4 separate regions of the Homo sapiens genome follow, and regions 2, 3 and 4 are each linked to region 1. Evidence: promoter capture Hi-C in 16 types of primary human blood cells and fetal thymus (Javierre and others, 2016). All regions are on one chromosome and are shown on one strand. Each heading gives the region's core, a stretch centred on a gene start or on the middle of the fragment in contact. The rest is flanking DNA. Distances are from core to core; before and after follow the strand shown.

Evidence for each region. The method cuts DNA at HindIII sites, captures the fragments that hold promoters and counts their contacts. A CHiCAGO score of 5 or more calls a contact.
Region 2: a contact is called between a fragment that was not itself captured here and the fragment with the promoter of ZCCHC2 in region 1, in 5 of 17 cell types (fetal thymus, endothelial precursors, naive CD8 T cells and 2 more). The highest score is 8.2, in fetal thymus.
Region 3: a fragment that was not itself captured here is called in contact with the fragment with the promoter of ZCCHC2 in region 1 in 1 of 17 cell types (megakaryocytes); the score reaches 5.2 in megakaryocytes.
Region 4: a fragment that was not itself captured here is called in contact with the fragment with the promoter of ZCCHC2 in region 1 in 1 of 17 cell types (megakaryocytes); the score reaches 8.3 in megakaryocytes.

What each region holds. Positions count from the first base shown.
Region 1 is chr18:62,521,515-62,524,743 of GRCh38, forward strand. It overlaps ZCCHC2 (zinc finger CCHC-type containing 2), which reads left to right and starts at 1,511. Exons shown (of 14, transcript NM_017742.6): 1 at 1,511-2,849. The coding sequence starts at 1,911. RefSeq lists silencers at 765-874, 1,105-1,374, 1,405-1,904, 2,795-3,034 and an enhancer at 2,220-2,793. The HindIII fragment of the contact is 5,111 bases long and covers 1,484-3,229 here.
Region 2 is chr18:62,982,324-62,985,552 of GRCh38, forward strand. No RefSeq gene overlaps it. Among named protein-coding and RNA genes, the nearest start is that of PHLPP1, 270 kb to the left of the region's middle. The HindIII fragment of the contact is 1,871 bases long and covers 538-2,408 here.
Region 3 is chr18:62,199,566-62,202,794 of GRCh38, forward strand. All of the region lies in intron 1 of RELCH (RAB11 binding and LisH domain, coiled-coil and HEAT repeat containing), which reads left to right. Among named protein-coding and RNA genes, the nearest start is that of RELCH, 14 kb to the left of the region's middle. The HindIII fragment of the contact is 2,037 bases long and covers 731-2,767 here.
Region 4 is chr18:62,254,609-62,257,837 of GRCh38, forward strand. RELCH (RAB11 binding and LisH domain, coiled-coil and HEAT repeat containing) reads left to right here. Exons shown (of 29, transcript NM_001346231.2): 13 at 799-870. Among named protein-coding and RNA genes, the nearest start is that of RELCH, 69 kb to the left of the region's middle. The HindIII fragment of the contact is 1,497 bases long and covers 694-2,190 here.

The DNA.
Region 1 (3,229 bases), core at 261-2,760:
TAGAAGATCCCAGGGTAGTTGAGGGTGACAGCAAAAAAGGGCAATGACGTATAAGTCCTCATAATAAAGTTTTCTTGGCTGTAAATTACATCTAAAGACTGTAAAGAACTAGCAAATTACAAGAAAGAGTGACTTTTATATATTTTGCCAACCTCAAATGTGCTGAAAACAGTTCTCCCTCTCACCCTTTCATCCCCGAAACTGATTCAGGCTTCAGTTCACCCTTTTACTGAACTGTGAATGAGCCTCTTAGGACATAAACTTGTGAGGTGAACAGAGTTCAGCATATGCTCTCCCAACAGATGTTCCAGCACCACCGCAAAGAGTTACAATGTGATTCTTATCTTTCTGCATACTCCTACTACATAGCTGTAGTAGGACTTCTAAATTTAAAGTCTTAAGATTTTTTTTAACCCACCTTTTAATTAACCCTCAAAAGATCCAGCTGAGTTTTAAAAATTTGGACTATGTTGCTAAAAAAAAAAAAAAAAAAAAAAAAAAGTAACAGTGCGAGTGTAAACATCTTGGAAGCCTAAATCTGAAAAACGTAACAAAACTTTTTTTTTTTAAGTTTAAAGCCTGTCAAGTTGGTAGCTTATTAAATTCCTCCAGTCACATGAAATTCACAGCAGAACAAGGATTCAAAATGGGTTAGGCACCGAAATGTCATTTAGCAAATCAATGATTCCCAAAAGATAGAGGTTTAGGGGCGGGGAAGGGAGAGGCTTTTCCTAAACTATCCAGGAAATAATTTTCACAGAGCGTTACAGACTAGGAGCGTCCCCAGCAGCGCTCACCCTCGGCCGGCCGGGTCCCGCTGCGCACCTCCCGGCCGCGCGTCCCCACCTGCGCACGGTGCCTCCAGCCTGGGCGTGGGCGCGGCCCGGGATCGCGGCGCCGGGGCCGCAAACCGGGGCCGCAAACCAGCGCCGCCACCCGCGTCCGGACCCAGTCCCCTGTGAGCGACACCTGGCAAAGTTTCACAAGGTGGGAGACAGCCCACCGCCGGCTTTCAGGAAGTGCACTGGGCGGTGAGGACTCGAACGAGCTCGTCCCGGGGCTGGCGCACTCACTTCGGAGAAACCCCTGCTCCCGGGACGCGTTCACTCCGGCCGCGCAGGCAGCCCGGGCACCACTGGCGGAGGCGGGGCGGCAGCTGGCAAGCAGAGGAGAATCAGGAGTCCAAAGCCGGGCCAGGGCCCTCAGGAAAGGTGAGAGCGGCCGCGTCCCTCCGCTCACGTGGGCCTCGCACGCTCCTCACCGCTCCCGGGCTACCCTCACGCCGCCCCACGGCCCCAGCCCGCGTCCTCCTCCTGCCGAGCACCAGCCTTTAGGACCGCACGGAAGCCGCCGAGAGGGAGGCGGCCGGCCAGCAGTTGGGCGTGGCTTCCTGGAGAAAGGCGGCCCCCCAGGGGGCGGGGAGAGCGACGTCACCGTCGATTCGCGGTGCTGATTGGCGGAGGTGAGGTGCGCGGAGCCCGCAAGCTTCTCCGCCCGGCCCGGCTGCTCCACCTCCTCACCCAGCCGCTCCGTCCTCACCGGCTCGCGAGGGAACAGCTCAGGCACCGCCGCCCCGGCTCAGCGCGGACGGCGGAGAGAGGGAGGCGGAAGGAGGACACCCTCGCTCGCTTGCTCCCACCCGCACCCGGGCTCCCAGAACCGGCGAGGAGCCCAGGGGGAGGAGCCGTCGCGGGCACGCCCCGCCCCCAGCCCGGGAAGACGACGCCAGCGACCCCGCCGGCCGGCCACCGCCCCCCTCGCCGGCCGAGACCCGCCCCCGGCCCCGGCCCTCCCCCGGCGGCATGGAGGGGCCCCGCTCCTGACGGCCGCGCCGCCGCCTCGGCCCGTGCTCCACCTCGCGGCCCCTCCCGCCCGCCCCCGCTCGCATGTCTGCGCCGCCCTAGCCGAGGATGCTGAGGATGAAGCTGCCGCTGAAGCCAACGCACCCCGCGGAGCCGCCGCCCGAGGCGGAGGAGCCCGAGGCGGACGCGCGGCCGGGCGCGAAGGCGCCTTCGCGCCGCCGCCGCGACTGCCGCCCCCCGCCGCCGCCGCCGCCGCCCGCGGGCCCGTCGCGGGGCCCTCTGCCGCCGCCGCCGCCGCCCCGGGGACTCGGGCCGCCTGTTGCTGGTGGAGCGGCGGCGGGGGCGGGTATGCCGGGCGGCGGCGGGGGGCCCTCGGCGGCGCTGCGCGAGCAGGAGCGGGTATACGAGTGGTTCGGGCTGGTGCTGGGCTCGGCGCAGCGCCTGGAGTTCATGTGCGGGCTGCTGGACCTGTGCAACCCGCTGGAGCTGCGCTTCCTTGGCTCGTGCCTGGAGGACCTGGCGCGCAAGGACTACCACTACCTGCGCGACTCGGAGGCCAAGGCCAACGGCCTCTCGGACCCGGGGCCGCTGGCCGACTTCCGAGAGCCCGCGGTGCGCTCGCGCCTCATCGTCTACCTGGCGCTGCTGGGCTCGGAGAACCGGGAGGCCGCTGGCCGTCTGCACCGCCTGCTACCCCAGGTGGACTCGGTGCTCAAAAGCCTGCGCGCGGCCCGGGGCGAGGGCTCGCGGGGCGGCGCGGAGGACGAGCGCGGCGAGGACGGCGACGGCGAGCAGGACGCCGAGAAGGACGGCTCAGGCCCGGAAGGCGGCATTGTGGAGCCCCGGGTCGGCGGCGGGCTTGGCTCCAGGGCCCAGGAGGAACTGCTGCTGCTCTTCACCATGGCCTCGCTGCACCCGGCTTTCTCCTTCCACCAGCGGGTCACCCTGAGGGAACACTTGGAGAGGCTCCGCGCCGCGCTCCGCGGGGGCCCCGAGGACGCGGAGGTGGAGGTAGAGCCGTGCAAGTTTGCCGGCCCCAGGGCCCAGGTAAGGCGCACGGAGCCTCCCTGGACTCGCGGTGCGATCGCTGCCCCGGCGGCCTCCCCGGCCTCGCTCTCGGACGCCCCTTGCCCGAGCCCCAGCCCGGCGCAGGTGGCTCGGAATCCCCACCCGGCAGCTCCCAGCGCCAGAGGGCTGAGCTTCGTCTCGCTGGGCCGCTCCGTTCCACTCCCCCACCCCACCCCACACCCCGGCAGACACAGCCACCCGCCATCACAGAATGCTCTAGAAGTCCCTTCCGTGCCACGGTGTTGCCACGGAAGACGTGGAGCTCCCCGCCCGGGGCCCCTCTCGGAGGAAAAGTGTCGGGACGTTTTTGGCTCTGAGCATCTCAGCGCTCGGTGCGGGAGCCGCCGGGCGCTGGAGGA
Region 2 (3,229 bases), core at 223-2,722, 460 kb after region 1:
TAGGTCTCCATGCGGTTGCATAGGAGCTGCCTCAGTTATTTCTGAGGAGTTTCTTTGCATTTCTGTTTATCCAGATAGCATCTAATAGTATATGTAGAGCTGCTTATACAACTGAAAGTGCTTTCTGAATATTAAAGTGCTTAATATTTGAAGATCCCTGAAGCCACAGTGTCTGCAGGGTAAGTATTAGGGAGAAGGGCATTCCCGCCTGCTCTATTCCCTGCTTCCTGCTGGAAATCCAGATAATTGGGAAAGGGCTTTGAGGGGAGAGAAAGGAAGAAATGAAACGGGAAGCGGAGAGCTGTGGTGAGCCTTGCTAGGAGAAGAACCCCTGATCGAGGACCCTAGAAACTGTTTGGTGTTGGATCCAGCGCATGCTGCCCGCCCTGTGCTGCCCTCAAGCTTCCTGCCCTTCGCTCCTGCTCCCGAGCACTGGCTTTGATGAGAGGTAGCAGAGCCGATCTCTGGGACCCAGAAACCCCACCTGCCTGCCTTGGTTTCTCTTGATTGCTTTTGTCACAGCACCACCTGCTGGTAAGCTTAGACTTTGGGTGGAAATGGGCTTCACTCTTTATCCTTCCTTCACTTTCCCAGAAGAAACAAAGTGTTTAAGTTTCTTATCACTGTATTTTCGTAAACACATGATAGCAAACTCCTATACCACTGTCAAGTATAGCCGAGAAGCTGTGTTTCCGCTTTGTAAGACAGTAGAAGTGATGACAGCTGGTTCCTGTGATGAGCCTGATTTTCCATGGGAAATTGACATGCAGAAATATTAAGATGGATAACCAGAATCATATAGTTTTGCTGGGAGAGAAGTCTGTCTTCAATGTCCATCTAATTCCCAATTCCCCTTTCCATGGTTAAAAAAAGCAAAACACAAAGCATCTGTTAACATGTTCTGGACCTTATAGGATAACACCTGAGAGTCCCCTCACCACTGGCACTGCAGGGGAGAGAAGAAGAATTCCATTTGATCATGTGAACATTCATCAAAGGGTATTTTGAGTTCATCCCTGACATGTTATCACAAGATAGAATTTCAGGCCGGGCACGGGGGCTCATGCCTATAATCCCAGCACTTAGGGAGGCCAAGGCGGGTGGATCACTTGAGGTCAGGAGTTCGAGACCAGCCTGGCCAACATACTGAAATCTCGTCTCTACTAAAAATACAAAAATTAGCCAGGTGTAGTGGTGCATGCCTGTAATCCCAGCTACTCGGGAGGCTGAGGCAGGAGAATCGCTTGAACACAGGAGTCGGAGGTTACAATGAGCCGAGATTACGCCACTGCATTCCAGCCTGGAATGCAGAGACTGGAACAGCCTGGCGACAGAGACTCTGTCTCAAAAAAAATTTTTTTTTCTTTTATTATCATACTTTAAGTTCTAGGGTACATGTGCACAACGTGCAGGTTTGTTACATATATATACATGTGCCATGTTGGTGTGCTGCACCCATTAACTCGTCATTTACATTAGGTATATCTCCTAATGCTATCCCTCCCCGCTCCCCCACGCCACAACAGGCCCCGGTGTGTGATGTTCCCCACCCTATGTCCAAGTGTTCTTATTGTTCAATTCCCACCTATGAGTGAGAACATGCGGTGTTTGGTTTTCTGGCCTTGTGATAGTTTGCTGAGAATGATGATTTCTAGCTTCATCCATGTCCCTGCAAAGGACATGAACTCATCCTAAAAAAAGATAGAATTTCTATAAAGTGTGGGTTTCTGGTATCTGCCTTACCTACCTCTCCAGCAATCAAATTAGGTCATGTATTTGCAGTAATTTAAATACTAAAGCCTTATGTAAGTGTAAATATTGTCATTGTTACAAATGAAGGAACTAAGGGGCGTCTGAAAGAAAATAATGAGGAATGCAGCAAAAGCACCTTTTTAAGCCAGGTATGGTACTGTGGGCCTGAAGTTAGTCCCAGCAACTTGGGAGGCTGAGGCTAGAGGATCACTTGAGCCAACGAGTTCAAGGCCAGCCTGGGCAACACAGCAAGCCCCTGACTCTTAAAAAAAAAAAAAAAAGAAAGAAAAAAGTACCTTTTTGAAAATGGGAAACTCTTAAGTCACTTATTACAATTGTTATAGAAGGAAAAGCACTGGTAATGATGGAGAAAATGGGCTTCTCTCATTTGTTGCCATTTCATTTTTCTTTCATTGCATCCCCCTAACTCACACTGTGCAAACTAGTCTATGGAAACTCTTATCTCACTATTGTCATTTATCTGTCATGAACTGATTCTTATTGCTATGTATTTGAAAGACGGCTCTAAGGTGGTTTTTTTTTTCCCCTAAGCCTCACCCCACTCAGCACCAAAATTACAACAAAGTTCCAACTTAGTACGGCGAGTCTATTGCCCTGCTCACTAAGTGAATGTAGGAATTACATCTAGCAGACAAAGCTTTGGGCTGGTGATGGAAAGCACACCCCACCGCTCACACCCTCCTGCTTCACTGTGTGCATTCATTCAACGTGTTTAGGAAACACCAGTAAAGAGCTGGCTACTTTGCATGGCTCTGCCTCACCAGCACGGGGCCCTGAGAAAATGGCTTGGTGTGGAGGTGGCTGTGCTAACCTCATGAGGGTGTGAGCCAGCCTGACGATGGCCTACGGGCCCACATGAATGGCAGAAGCCAGTGTGGAGGCCCCATATATTGTCCTGTTCCTTCTGGAAGACTAAGGTTGAACACTGCCGAGGAAATTGGCAGATGGGTCCTCAAGGCAGCCGTCCATTTTCTGGGGTGTGTGGTAGAAAGCTGGAGGCTATGCTGTCCCCAGCCCTGATGTGAGTACCCATAAACAATCATGGCATTTCTCCAGCTTCGGTTCATGAGTCCCTTCATTTTATGCCCAATCAGAAACACAGTGTTCTTCTATCCTGTGCAGAGGGGGAAGCAACAGAACACTTGGAGAATTTTCTTCCATCTGCTCATGACTGGAATTGCTCTCATTGTCATTCCTCCGCTTTTCTAAGGACAGGGAAGGAAAACTGCCTTCACTGAAATCACAGGTACTTTCTAGTCATTCAGTTTCTTAGGTCTTATTCCATTCTGGTAAGCTGGCACTTTCCCCTAATTACCAATCTTACCTATTGAGAGAAAGTTGAAATGGCAACAAAGATGGTTTTCCCAAATGCTACACCTCCAGATGTTGACTTTTCTTGAACTCATAAATAAGTGATTTGCTCTTCTGAATTTTCAAGAAAACTGCTCCACAATTA
Region 3 (3,229 bases), core at 499-2,998, 320 kb before region 1:
AACATTTATAAGTTGGGAATATTTTCTTGTGAAAATTAACCTTTTACTTTATATCCGATTTCCTCAACTCTGTCTGAGCAAGATTCCATCAAAGCTCTGTTTCTGAGGCCATTCACAACATCAAACCCAACTTACCTGGAATCTAGGCGATCAGAACCTGGATGCTCTTACATATTATTCAAGAGAACCAATGGTTTAGAGCTCAGGCTTTGCTGTCGGAGAGCTTGAGTTCATATTTCTATTCTGCCACTCCCTCATTGCATGACTCTGGATAGTCTTTGTTTCCTTTACTGTAAAATGCAGATGGTAATGACTCCTTTAGCACAGGGTTGTTATGAAAGGTTATCTGTGTAAAGTATGTGGCATAAAATAAGTGGTCAAAAAGAATGTTAATAATAATAATTACTATTGTTGTCATCACTAACAATAATCATTCTCTTTACTAATAGCTTTTCATATGATAAAGTCATCTTGTATTATAGAAATTTTAAGTGACTAGCTTGTCAATAAAGTTTCAGCATGTAAGTTTCTTCCCAAGTGTAAATCTTGACTTTGAAGTTCCACTCTTTCTGAAACCCTGTGACAAAGAGAAAAAGACAGTGGGCTGCAAACTGGGAGGCTTGAATTCTACTTCTGGCTTGCTCACAGATTAATTTTTTAACCTTTAAGATAAAGTAAGCCAATTGTATTATTGTTATCCCTGTATATGACTTAATTCCAATGATTCATAAGCTTCCTTAAGGCAAGGACAAAGTTTTACCGAAGTTTTATCTTTGTACTCCTCACTATGGCTTAGTAAATACTGCATAAGTACATAGCTTCAGTTCTCTCATCTGTAAAAATGAGGGGATTGTACTGTCTTAATTCCTTTTAGCTCTCAAATATTTTGGACATAGAGGTCAGTGAAAAATTAGCCCCATCTTTGGAGAGGAATTGAGGATCAGGAAAATATAAATGTGAGTGCCGCAGTTGCTAAAAGTAAAAGGCTGTCCCCAACTTTTTTTTTTTTTTTTAATGGAGAGATAGACCAAGATCCTGGTCTATCCAGAAATTAGCCTTTCTATTCTGGTGTATCATGTGTATTCTAAAGTGTTTCACATCTTTCCTTTCTTTATCACCAAGGTTACTGCTATACCAAGCCTTCCAAATAATTTCAGAACTGACCTTGAGTGGGAGGAGGCAGAGTACCTTTGTGGTTTTACTCTGACGTTTATAAATACAGTGCCCACATAAAAGAAACTTTTCATTAGTATTGAATGAATTTTATATTATTTCCAAAGTAGAAAATTTATAGTCTTATTTTTTTAACTTTCATATTTTAGAGTAGCCTTATAGGTTCTCTTTCTTTGACATACATCTCTGAGATCCCACCTTAAGTGAATAACTGTTTTTTCTTTGCTTTTTTTTTTTTTTTTTTTTTTTTTTTGAGACTGAGACTAGCTCTGTTGCCCAGGCTGGAGTGCAGTGGCGCGATCTCGGCTTACTGCAACCTCCGCCTCCCAGGTTCCAGTGATTCTCCTGCCTCAGCCTCCCAAGTAGCTGGGTCTACAGGCGCATGCCACCATGCCCAGCTAATTTTTTGTATTTTTATTAGAGACGGAGTTTCACCGTTTCAGCCAGGATGGTCTCGATCTCCTGACCTTGTGATCCGCCTGCCTCGGCCTCCCAAAGTGCTGGGATTACAGGCGTGAGCCACCGCCCCCGGCCCTTGAATAACATTTTAAAATGTTTACACACAACCTCAGGTTTAAATAGAATTACTTTTAAAGTAAGTCTGTTATTAGCAATATCTTTATATTTATTGAATTTATTATTATAAATTTCTTTCTCATGACAGATTTTTTTAAGCATGGTTGAATAAATCGTCTTTACTGAAAGAATTGTAATATAAAGCGAATTGCTTGATTTTTTTTCCATTTAATTGTGAATTGGATACTTTCATGATTTTTAAATTATAAAGTGCCCATATTAAAGTATATATTAAATGTAATTATGGGGGAAAATGCCAAAAGTAAAAACAAAAAGCTCAAATAATACAAAGAGAAATATGTAGTGAAAAATGTACTTCTGCTTCTCAGAGTCAGTTATTATTAATAATGTATTGTGGATGTTTACAAAAACATTAATGCAAATGTAAGCATATATAAACATGATTACTTAGACTTATATATCCATGTCCTTTAAAAAAATTATTTTGCTATTCCTGTCAGTGACCTAGTTCACAGTAGTTGTTCAATAAATATTTAAATTACCCAATACTCTTTTATTAGTCGACAGCTGGTCCGTTTTTCTGATGCATTTGGTTCTTAAAGTGCCATGTAGTTTTCAAGGATCTGAGACTAAGTTTTTCAATTATAGTAAAAACATTTTTCAGCAGTACTAAAATATTAAATGTAAATATAAATAAAACTACTTTTGTATGTGATTTAAAACATCAATCTGCACGACTGTGTATAATAGGTTTAGTTCTCAGACTTGATAAAACTTATGAACAGGTTTTACCAGTTTACCAACTATGATGAAAGTACCTGATTATTTGTTTCTGAGTTATAAAGTGAATTGTTAAGAAGTTACACAATAGGCATCCTGGTATTTGAAGAAATGCTCTGTAGTTAAAATACTTCATATTAGAATATGGTAGATTCTTAATAAAAGAGGCTAATTTTCCCAAACTCTTCTTGTATATTAGGACATTTGGAAAACAAAAGGCATTTGCTTCTCCTGGAAAAGAATTGTGGCTTAATCTAAAGAAGCACATTTACCTTGAAGCTTTAATATAACCTGTTACTAGTCTTAAAATCCAAAGTACATATAGGGTAGTCCAGTCAAAGTTAAAATTACTTTCTTCCATAAATAATTTTTCTTTCTGACAAGATGGAGTAGATTTTAATGAATTGAGAGATTGTTTTTCTTTTGTGACATCATATTTATTATATTAAAAGATATCAGAGCTTTTTTTTCCTGGAGAATATGAAGTTGTTGGCTTGGAACTAGAAAAAATTAGAAAATATATTTTTCAACGGCCATGATAATGCCAAGTTGAAAATTAAAGTGTGTGTTTGCTTTCCCCCAAGAGTCTCCCTGTTGAATAAATGAGTTCTTTAAAACTTTTAGAGAAATAATAATGGTGTTATTGAAGAATAATGTCTCATGACCAAAGTAGCTCTAATCTAGGCTTGTATATATGATTTAAAATATTAGAAGGAAGATGAAAAAGACTTAGTAAACT
Region 4 (3,229 bases), core at 192-2,691, 270 kb before region 1:
TTGGATATCGGGGATCTATCTAGCCGCCTACCTCCAGTTTGTTGCCCAGTAGATTATTATATAATTTTTTTTCTTAATTTTAGGCATCCAATACATTAATGAATTATGTCACCTTTTCATATGGGAATATGAGAACAAATATACTCCTTTTCCAGTCAAAGAAAGATTTATATTCTATGAAGAAGACATATGGGAACAAAACCCAGTATGTGTCATTTTTTTTGTTATTTTTGGTTATGGTTCAGTGTAGTCATCACAATAGCAAAACCCCATCATTTTGCATTTGCAAACAGAGGAATGGATTGAAGTCTGCTTACTTTATAAATAAAAGCATATTTCTAGCAAGGGTTCTGGTCAAATCATTGATTAACTTCCTTCCTCATCCCTTAGGTTGAAGAAAGAAGACTGGCACATATTATAGACCGTATCTATAAGATCCAGAAGCTGAGTTTTCCAAGTTTAAAAATATTCTACTCTTGCTAGGGAAAGGTCCTGGTTTCTCCTGTTACTCTAAGGAAGGCCTACTCTTAGGCAAGCCCATAATCTCTAGATACCTTGCCAAATTTTCATCTTGGTTTTCCCTTTTTTCTTTAACAGATGACCCCTGTAACCTCATATTTAGGTTCTCCCTCACTCCCTCATTCCCGATCCAGGTATAGTCAAACAGGGATTCCCAGAAGTGGAAAAGGAAGAAGCTTTATTGCATTCTTAACAGGATTTGTGGTGAAATGTAATTCTCTTTTGAAGGAAGGGAGGGTATGCTGTTTATGCTTGATTTATTTATTTTTTTTGCTCTAGATTAATCACAAATACCCAGAAAGACGACTGCTTGTGGCAGAATCCTGTGGAGCACTGGCACCTTACCTTCCTGTAAGATTGTCTTTTTTTTTTTCTTTAAACTATTTTTCCAATAATAGAAAAACCTTTTTTTGAGTGTCTTATAGATTTTAATCCAAATGTCTCCTAGATGTGCTGTCTTAATAAAGAAAAGAGATGATCCAAAAAAGAGACTCACATTAGTACAGTATGGCATTGCAGACACATAGGTACATTACCACTGATTTTGGATGAGTATAAATATATTAAACTATATCAGCAGTTCTCATAGTGTGGTCTGAGGACCCTGGGGGTTTCCTTGAGATCCTTCCAAAAAGGTCCATGAGGAGAAAACTGTTTTCATAATAATAAGACACTTTTTGTCTCTTTCACTGTGTTGAAATTTGTATTGTTGGTGCAAAAGCAGGGATGGGCAAAAATGCTGCTGCATTAGCACTAATCAGGGCAGTGGCACCCAAATGTACTATTATAATAATGATTGTATTCTTTACTGCCATGCTTTTGCAGAAAAAGCCAATTTCACCTAAAAAGGAGCTTGCTGAATCAGTAAAATTATTTATTTTACTAAATTTTGACCTGTGAAGCATGCATCTTTTTAATATTCTGTGAGACAAAATAGAAAGTACTCATATAAAAACCCTTTGCTGCATACTGAAAAATTATAGCCATTTGCAGGAAAAGCACTTAGGCAGTTGTTTGAGTTATGAGCTCAACTAGCTGCTTTTTTTTTAATGGGACACCAATTTTACTTCACAGAAACACTTACAGTCAAACTGGTTTTTCAGACTTGGGTATGTGGCAGACATTTTCATGAAATTGGATGGAGTGAGAATGTCACTTCAAGGAAACCAAGTAGACAGCATTCATTGCCAGTGGATTTATACTCCTACTAACAGTACCTTGGAGTTTTTATTTTCCCATACCTTCACCAGGAACTAGGCACGGTGAAATTTTTTTAATGTTTTTCTAGTGGAAGAAAATGCCTTATTGTTGTGATAAATCATACAGATTGATGCAAATGGTTTTGAGCATCTTATTATTTATTGTTCCAAGACAGATGAGCATCCCTTGCTCTCAAAGGATAAATAGGCTGTTCTACTCTGATCCTAGAATACTAAGCAGTATTAATAATAGATACAATGTTTCCTCAGCGGATCTATGTTTGCCTTCTGCGTACCCCATTGTCACTGATAGCAGCAAAATGTCTCTACATTGGCAGTTTCTCAGTGTGTTCATGACTTAAATAGAGTAATGCCTCCTGACCAATGCTCTGGTGGGGTCCCTGTGGCATACTAAAACTGATTGCCACAGTTGACCCTTGCCTAAATCAGCATAAAGCAAATGCCCACTTGAAGCTTATTTTCCTCTGTCATATTGCCTTGTGTGGATACCAACCAACAAGTCCCTTTAAATAGTTTAAGATATTTTAGGGCAATTTTTAGCCTAAAAAGTAAATAAATGAGGCTGTACCAAAAGATGTTATATATTCACCAACCTAAATGTGTTTTAAGATATGCTAAAATTGCATGTATTTTTGTTTCTAAAAAGTGAAAACCAGACTTTTTAAAAATGTCTCTCAAGCCTTGCTCTACATACCAAATCATGCTGTAAATTTATGCAAATAGCCATGTCATCTGCCTTTATTTTTATTTTATCGTAGTTATTGTATGTAAAAAGGACCTAAACAAGTTTATGTTTTAAGAATTTTATAAATTGCAATATTAGTACAAGTAGGAGAGGAGGAGCATGAATTTGTATATTGGTAGCTCTTTATCCTAACCTCAGCCATGAAGCTAAAACACTCTTTATCATAACTGGAAAATATTCTGTGTGAAATCAAGGCACAGCAGTGGGTGTACATTATATTAACTATTAGCATAAAAAAGAGCAATGCAATTTTTAAGTACTTTTAAAGTTCACTCTCTTATTTTATTATCCTTTTTTTCCCACTTCTTCAAAGAAATAGGAATGCCAGGATTTTAGGTTTCCTCACCATATCCCAGACAAATTTTCTAATTGCCAGAGAGATTTTTGTAGTTCCTCCTGTTAAAACTCTCAGTGCTCTTCTCTGAGTGAAACAAATAGTGACACGAGAGTCATTGTCCATTTGTAGTAGAGTTTGTAGTAGACTTTGTTGATTTGTTGAAAGTGCCTCCTAGTGTGAACTGCAAGGATTTGAGAGATTTTTACATATTTAGTAAAGATATAAAAAACATGCTGAGAGATGATTAATAAATACCAAATTCAAAGTAGATATTACTGCCTCTAGAGAGGAAGGGATTTGGGCATGAGTGATATTTTTGCTGTATCTGTAATGTTTTATGTCTTCAAAAAAAAAAGGTCTGAAGCAAAATCTCTGTACATCAACAGTTAGTCAGCATTTTTAATAAAA